Linked DNA regions of Homo sapiens: region 1 is linked to region 2. The links are contacts of gene promoters, found by promoter capture Hi-C in human tissues and cell types (Jung and others, 2019). All regions are on one chromosome and are shown on one strand. The core of a region is centred on a gene start or on the middle of the fragment in contact, and the rest is flanking DNA. Distances in the headings are between cores, read along the strand shown. Region 1 overlaps LINC01153 (long intergenic non-protein coding RNA 1153). Region 2 holds the start of NSMCE4A (NSE4A component of SMC5/6 complex).

Region 1 (4,232 bases), core at 1,535-4,034, 800 kb after region 2:
TAGGCTCAAGTTTCTGCAGCTAGTAAACTGAGTCAGGGTTTCAATCTGGGTCTCCACTAAAAGCATTTTGCTAAGTCTGAATATACATTGGTGAGATGAGTACTAAGCACCCCCAGACCATCAGTGGACCTTTGACACATCTGCTGATCTCTGAGTCCTTCTGTTTTATGAGGAGGATTGCTCAGGGTCAAACCTAGGAGTCCGTCTATTGGTAAGATGCATATCCACAGAGGAGGCTTCCGAGACTTCTCGTTTCCATTTGGACCTTTAAGTGAGTCTGGATTTTCTTGGCTTCACTTGACACAGGTCCATTATCCAAACCCAGCACACCAGATTAGCCCAGTAGAACCAGGGCAGGTTACGCTTAACCAAGGCTGTGTTGGTTGACATGGGCTTCTCCAGTAGAAAAGTCACAACCTGGAAAATATGCTCCTTTGTGCCATGTTTTCTTTTCCCCATTTCCAACGTTTGAATCATTTATTAAAGAAAGGAGCTGTTCTTTCCCTTGTTTTCCTAGGACATTATGTTCTTAAAAAATACAAAACAATGCAAAAGCCAAGATACTGGGCCCAGACCTGGTCACCCACAGGCTAGCCCAGATAGAAGCCTGTGGTTCCCTCTTCACCAGATGCCAAGTGTCCCAAATGTCATATGCATAGAGTACACGAGAAAGAAATTTCCCACCTGAATTAACTGAGATGCAGTAACTTGGATTAATGAATGACATGAAATTTGTTGAGTGACTATGTAAACAATCCATGCATGTAACACACATTCAAAACATTTAAAAGAGCACTGAGTGAAAAGAGTCCCTCAAAGTCTAGTAAACTGCCTCATTGGAGGCACACCAATGTGAAGGGTATTATTTTTCTATTTTTAAAAAATTCTTAAGTATTATTAATCAGTCTTGTTTTCAGTTATACTGAAGTAATTGGGATTAAACTCTTTGTAGAATCATCATCTAGGATTAACATTTGCTGTGGGATGTTGAGATGGTATGCTAACCTCCAGCCAAAGATCTCCAGGCACTTCACGTCTATTGACATTTTTTGAACACCTACTATGTTCCAGGCTCTGTGACCAAGCAGCCAACTTGGGTCGTCAATGAAGTCGAACAGGTGTCAATTCGTTTTTGGAAAATTGAGCAATTGGCAAAAATTCCACTTGGAAGGCAGACAAATTTGTTTGGAAGAATGGATGAATAAAAAGCCAAGAAAACTCTGAAAAGAAAGTGCAATAAGAAAAAAAAGTCCCACCAGACATCCAAACATACTGGAAAACCTCTGTTATCAAAACAGGTTATACTGGCATGTGAATAGGCAGACTGACAAAGCAAAGTAGAAGACCCAGAAATAGCCCCACTTGCACGTGGAGACTTGTAGATGAGAAAGGTGGCATCGCAAATTGGTGGGAGAATGAACTTCTCTGCAAGGGGTGTTGGGATAAGTAGATAGCAACTGGAAAAAAAACAAAATCGGACCTGTTTCTCCATATACTGGGTTAAATTCCAAGTAGACAAGAGATTTAAATATAAAAACTGAAACTGTAAAAATAAGAAAATATTGGCAAATGGCTTTCTATCCTTGGAGATTGTGAAGCTTTCTGAATTACGGCTCAAATCCAGACATGGTAAGGGAAAAGATTGAAAAATTTGGTTGTATTGAAATAAAAAAAACTTCGTGTGACAAAAAAATCAACAACAACAAAAAAATAAAAACCACCATGAGTAAGATAAGACAAATGACAAACTAGGAAAAATAATATTCACAGCTTATATTAGAGACAAATTATTAATAGCCCTAATGTATTTGAAAAAGCTCCTTAAAATGGAGGAGAAAAACTACAACAATTCTGTAGAAAAATATACTAAGGATAGTATATTTATTGATGTTCAAATATTTGCCCCCTTAGGGCAAATCTTTCTGTAGAAAAATGGGTTAGAAATATAAGCAAATAATTGACAGAAAAAGAAATCCAAATATCTCTCTGTCGCTCTCTTTTTTTTTTTTTTTTTTTTTTTTTTTGAGATGGAGTCTCACTCTGTCACCCAGCCTAGAGTGCAATGGTGCGATCTTGGCTCACTGCAACCTCCACCTCCCAGGTTCAAGCAATTCTCCTGCCTCAGCCTCCCGAGTAGCTGGGCTTACAGGCACCCACCACCATGCCCAGCTAATTTTTGTATTTTTAGTAGAGATGGGCTTTCACCATGTTGGTCAGGCTGGTCTCGAATTCCTGACCTCAAGTGATTTGCCTGCCTCGGCCTCCCAAGGTGCTGGGATTACAGGTGTGAGCCACCATGCCCGGCCATCTCTCTTAACAGTATGAAAAGATAATCAACTTCATTAATAATAAGATAAATGTAAAATAAAAACTATACCAACGTACCATTTCTCACCTATCGGATGTCAAAACCCCAAAGGTTGACAACATGCTGTATTGGCAGACCTATGGGGAAACAGGCCCTCTCATTCAATTCTGGGAGGAATATGAAATGGGACAATCCCAGGGAGGAGACTGGCACTATCTAGCAAAACCACATGGGCATTTAGCCTATGACCCAGCAATGCCACTTCTAGGAATCGCCAAGATACCTTGGCAAAAATATGAAAAGACAGATACACAGGCTATTCATCACAGCACTTTTTATAAGAGCAGATGACTGAAAACAACCCAAATGTCCACCAGTAAGGAACAGGTTAAATAAACTATAGGACAGCTACATGATTGAGTATGTACTATGCAGCTATGAAAAGAAATGAGGATGAACCCTGTGATAGCTGTGGAGTGACTTCCAAGGCATGTTAAGTGAATCCAAGGCAGAAAAAAGAATAGTCTGCTGTTATTTATCAAAGAAAGGGAATATATATGTGTGTGTATCTGTGTGTATGATTATATATACATACATATAGGCACACATATATAATCATGTATATAATCACATATATGATATATATATTATGTACACACATAAATATATAATCACATATATGATTTGCTTGTATTAAAAAGGAAGAATAAAATGTATTTTTAAAATAAGTTATTTTTGAGGAAAAAAGGAATAGTGTGGAGAGTTCAGAGATGAAAGCTAGCCTTGTTACTTACATTTTGAGTTTCAAATTTGGTTTTGGAATCATACAAATGTTTTACATAATTGTGAAACCAAATTATAACACTAAAATTTAAAAAGCTAGTCTCTAAAAGCTGATGATAAAATGAAACAAATGAACCTAACTCTGGATTGAGCTGATGGCATAAGCAGAGACAGGAACTGCTCCAAGTGACTTTTAAATAAGATAACTTGACAGCATGTCCCTGGTGAGTATATACCCTAAGGATAAAAAGAACTTAAAAAAAAATTAAACTATTTTTAGTAATCATATTTTGGTGCTAATGCTTATATTATTATTCTGCTATTGTTCTAAGTATGGTGTGGGATAAAGCAAATGAATAATTATATTGGTGTCACTGAAAAATGGGATTTTTGTGGATGCAGATTAAGATCAAGGAATTTAGGTAAAATCTTACAGTCTTGATTTTGAATGAGGAGTATCAGTATGAACTTGATAGATTTTTCTCAAGGTCTGTCCGCTTAAAAGGCCTGGAAAGAATGACCAAACCAGTAGCAATGGGAACACCTATCACCCAGATTGTGGTTCTATTGGACAGAACCAAAGCTTCTTGGCAAGATGGAGGATTCCAGGTCTGGGAGGAAATAAACAAGGTGAGCCTGGAGCAATTGTCATAACTGAAAGCCAAAAAACTATCAAAGACTAGAAGAAACATGTCAAAAAGACTCAGGAGACAACTTGCAAAACCTCCCTCAGGGCAAATATTTCAACATCAATAAAGATAAAAACTAAGAGGGATTGAAACACATCGAATATGTTTTAATCCATGAGTTCCAAATGGTGCTAGGAAAATCATGGGTCACTCTTGCAGAATGCTAGGGTACAACTCATTAGTTTGAAAATTGGTAAATGAAAGAAAGAGGAAAGCTTATCTTGTTTCTATAAGAACCCTACCTTAGGAAACAAAGGAGCTGGTGAGAGGAGTTTCTCTTCAGAAATGTGTAATAGGTCACGAAGAGGAATGATGACAATAATGAAGCCAGCAAGAATACGTCCTCAGCTTCAGAGGTTCCTACCTGGGAGACAGAGTGGAGAAGAGAGGGTCCTTTTGCAGACCTTAATGAATTAATGGATCTAGGCAGTGATCATCAATGGCTGCAAACA
Region 2 (4,252 bases), core at 1,659-4,158:
GTTTATGTCTAGCTAAGGGATTGTAAATACACCAATCGGCACTCTGTATCTAGCTCAAGGTTTGTAAATGCACCAATCAGCACTCTGTGTCTAGCTCAGGGTTTGTAAATACACCAATCAGCACTCTGTATCTAGCTAATCTAGTGGACAGGTGGAGAACTTTTGTGTCTAGCTCAGGGATTGTAAACGCACCAATCAGCACCCTGTCAAAATGGACCAATCAGCTCTCTGTAAAACAGACCCATCGGCTCTCTGTAAAATTGACCAATCAGCAGGATGTGGGTGGGGCCAGATAAGAGAATAAAAGCAGGCTGCCCTAGCCAGTAGTAGTAACCCACTCAGCTCACTTTGCACACTGTGGAAGCTTTATTTTTTCGCTCTTTGCAATAAATCTTGCTGCTGTTCACGCTTTGGGTCTGCACTGCTTTTATGAGTTGTAACACTCACTGTGAAGGTCTGCAGCTTCATTTCTGAGGCCAGCAATACCACAAACCCACCGGGAGGAACGAACAACTCCAGACACGCCGCATTAAGAGCTGTAACACTCACCGTGAAGGTCTGCAGCTTCACTCCTGAGCGAGTGAGACCACGAACCCACCAGAAAGAAGAAACTGCGAACACATCTGAACATCATAAGGAAAAAACTCCGGACACATCACCTTTAAGAACTGTAACACTCACTGCGAGGGTCCGCGGCTTCATTCCTGAAGTCAGTGAGACCAAGAACCCACCAATTCTGGACACACTTTCACCTGGAAGAACGCTAAGTATTCCATTACAGAACACTGAGCTACAAGCAACAACTATGAAACAATGACCTGGTTTAAACCATGATTTATGGCTTACTTTACAGGGAGTCTGGAGGCATGTGGTTGATTCAGCAATTCAGCCATGTCCATCTTTGCTCTCCAGTGTCTCCAGCACTCTAGTCTTTCCTCATGCTTGTCACCTCGTGAGTACCAGATGCTGCCAATATGGCAGGCTCCACATTTTTTCTTTCAGACGTTGTTTCATTCTTGTCACCCAGGCTGGAGTGCAATGGCGCGATCTCTGCTCACTGCAACCTCCACCTCCCAGCTTCAAGCAGTTCTCTTGCCTCAGCCTCCCGATTAGCTGGGATTACAGACACGCACCATTATGCCCGCTAATTGGCAGGTTCCCCATTTCTTATGCCAGCCATCTCAAAGGGGGTAGGGGGTCAAGGGTTTTCTTTTCAGGAAGGTTTGTATTCCATCCAGTTGGGAAACCCTTTCACATCTCACGGACCCAGGTTGCATCACATGACCCTTGACCAGTCACTGGGGAAGGGGAATGACATTACCGTGACCTGGTTAGAGTGATCACGTTTCATCTAAGGAAGTAGGCACACACGTCCCCTTCAGGAAATACAGATAAGCAGGGATGGGTGAGGTAGTAGCTGTTGGACAGCAATGAACAGTGCCTAACTTAAGTTTAGTAGACATGATGCACAAAATGGAATATTTGTAGGTTGTGTAATAACCCAACTTATAATATTGGTCTTTTGAGAAAATGTGTTCTTAGCACCAAAGACAACTTTTGGGAAACAATACTCGAATACAATCCAAAATGCACGGAGTGAAATTCATACATTTATCTTTCAAAGTATACTTAACATAATTCCATCTTTCTTGGGCCCTTCAGGAGGTATTCTTAGAATCTTCTAGTTTGAGAATCAGAATCAGGCTGTGCCTGGTGGCCCATGCTTGTAATCCCAGTACTTAGGGAGGCCGAGGTGGGCGGATCACTTGAGGTCAGGAGATGGGGTTGCAGTGAGCCAAGATAGTGCCACTGTACTCCAGCCTCGGCAGAGCAAGGTCTTAAAAAAAAAAAAAAAATCAAATGTGAACATAGACTGTCATTAAAATCAACCCAACAATCCCATAGACTGTTTACTATTTTTTTAATAAACTTAGAAATTATCATTTCTAGTCTTAAGGTTGAAACTTACCTTTGTTTTATCTGAGTTCCTTCCTCAGGAAAGGACCTCCAGAGCCTCTCAAAAAGTATCAAAAAACTGAAACTCGCCATATCACCGCATTCCAGACAATGAGATGCCAAGCCCCTCATGCATCCCCATAGCTTCCTTCCCCCTCCCGAGTTCCTCTTTTCCCATACATTGTTACATTGCTTCCCTGCAACTGTATAAACCCTTAATTTTAGTTGGTCAGGGCAATGGATTTGAGACTGAGCTTCCAACTCCCTGAGTGCAGCACCCTACTAAAGCCTTCTTCCTTGGTAATAATGGTTTTCTCAGTGATTTCTGTGAGGGGGCAGCGGGTCCTAGAACAAAACCCTGGTGCTCTGGTGACATTCTGTTGTAGATATTTAGAAGGATGTTTACCTGTTAATTTGTTCTGCTATCCTCACAAAAAATGGTATTGCCAGCTGCACATAAATATTTGATTCATCCACCCACCCCTGTTCCCCACCCCCCCGACCCCAGCCATGATGGCACAGGGAAACTGAGGTCGCAGGTGAGCAGCAGACCGCGTCTGGACTCCACATCCCGCGCTCATCCTGCTCCACAGCAGGAAGCTCGTTCAACACACATGGACTGCGTGCCCATGTGGGTGCCAGGCTGCGGCTGTGTCCTGGGCAGGCAAAGGGACCTAGGGAAGATGCAGGTCCAGGAGGGTGGGAAAGTAGGGGCAGAAAACCAAGATTCTCACAGCCCTGCAGTGTGGAGTAAGAGCTCATTACACCTCTTGTCAAGGGAACAAAGGATCCCCGCCAGGCCCCTCTTGTGCACCCAGCGGTCCCCCCAGGCGCCTTGGAGACCCGGCCGGGCCCGTCGCCGGCCTCCAGCCACAGGCGTCGCTGTGCGCTCGCGCGGGCCCGGGAGCCGCGTTCCGCCGGGAGCAGGCGCTGGCGCAGAGCAGGGGTTTCAGTTTCTGGCGCGAACTTCCGCCGTTCCGAAGTTGCACGGTGAATTGGCGCTATGTCTGGGGACAGCAGCGGCCGCGGGCCAGAGGGCCGGGGCCGGGGCCGCGACCCGCATCGGGATCGCACCCGCTCCCGCTCCCGCTCGCGGTCCCCTTTGTCGCCCAGGTCCCGCCGCGGCTCTGCGCGGGAGCGCAGAGAGGCCCCAGAGCGCCCGAGCCTGGAGGACACAGAGCCGTCGGATTCCGGGGACGAGATGATGGACCCGGCCAGCTTGGAGGCGGAGGCCGACCAAGGCCTGTGCCGCCAGATCCGCCATCAGTACCGGGCGCTCATCAACTCCGTCCAACGTAAGGCGGCGCCTCCGGGCGGCGCGGGCCCGGACGGGCCGCTGTCCCCGCCCTGCGCCGGGCGCGGGGGGAGGGCACCGGAGGCAGGTGCCGGGCGGAGGCCCGGCGCGGCGTTAGTAGAGACGCGCCGGGTGCCAGCCCCTCGCCGCACCTTAAATTGTTGACAAAGTGCTCCCACTTTGTGGCTGGAGCCGTACGACCTTGGCGCGGGTCCCCGAGTGGCGGGCTGGAAAAGCTGGAGGCCAGAGCCGTTCGCGGACTCGCCCGAGCCCAGCCAGCCAGTGGGGAGAGGCAGGACGCGGACTCCGCGTGCTTTGATTGCGCCCGGCAGTCCTCGGCGTGGGCTCCCGGCCTCGCAGCGGCAGCTGCAGCTGCAGCGGCACGCGAGAGCTGTCAAATGCACGTTCTCGGACCCCACCCGGACCCGCGGAATTCGAATCTCTGGGTGGGTCCGCGCAACTGTGGAGTGGCCCTCCAGGTGATGGTGTGTATTGCTTGCAAAGTTTGAGAACCACTCAGTTATGGAGCACTCAGAGGCTGCAGCCGGAGTCCAGCCCTTTGGGTTAAGGTTAGAGGGAGCTAGGGTTTCCTTTTAAAATTCATGCTGCATAAAGGGTAGGGTGGCCTTTCTCCTTTTCCGGGTCATTTTGGTTAAAAAGATAAAGATGTTCGAAGTAATTACTCAGAGCGCAGGGGCCGGGGCTTGGCTTTACTGTTGCAGGTGATAACCTTGTCAACTGCTTATTAGTGAATGCTGAACAAATTTCCCAAAGTTTGTATTTTTAAAAATAGAAAACCGTGAGGACATACTGAATGCCGGTGACAAATTAACAGAGGTCCTTGAAGAGGCTAACACTCTGTTTAATGAAGGTAATTTGTTATTTTATATGTTATTTCGTGTTTTATGATACTTTTAATTAGTGTTACATAAGCGCCAAATTATTGACATAAAACAATTCCCACATTTGTAATAGTGCTTTCCCAGTTCGGGAACCGTTTCA

Evidence for each region. The method cuts DNA at HindIII sites, captures the fragments that hold promoters and counts their contacts. A contact is called where the count stands out against the background at its distance.
Region 1: a fragment that was not itself captured here is called in contact with the fragment with the promoter of NSMCE4A in region 2 in 1 of the 25 tissues and cell types used here (hippocampus).

The regions. Positions count from the first base shown.
Region 1 is chr10:121,178,763-121,182,994 of GRCh38, reverse strand. It overlaps LINC01153 (long intergenic non-protein coding RNA 1153), which reads right to left. Exons shown (of 2, transcript XR_246197.3): 1 at 4,023-4,232. The region is part of intron 1 of LOC124902515 (a long non-coding RNA gene); the gene reads left to right. Among named protein-coding and RNA genes, the nearest start is that of LINC01153, 2.3 kb to the right of the region's middle. The HindIII fragment of the contact is 4,166 bases long and covers 702-4,232 here.
Region 2 is chr10:121,973,873-121,978,124 of GRCh38, reverse strand. NSMCE4A (NSE4A component of SMC5/6 complex) reads left to right here and starts at 2,908. Exons shown (of 11, transcript NM_017615.3): 1 at 2,908-3,251; 2 at 4,044-4,121. The coding sequence starts at 2,960. LOC124902517 (a long non-coding RNA gene) reads right to left here and starts at 3,258. Exons shown (of 2, transcript XR_007062322.1): 1 at 1,970-3,258; 2 at 348-1,837. RefSeq lists an enhancer at 2,474-3,269 and a silencer at 2,707-3,506. The HindIII fragment of the contact is 19,014 bases long and covers 133-4,252 here.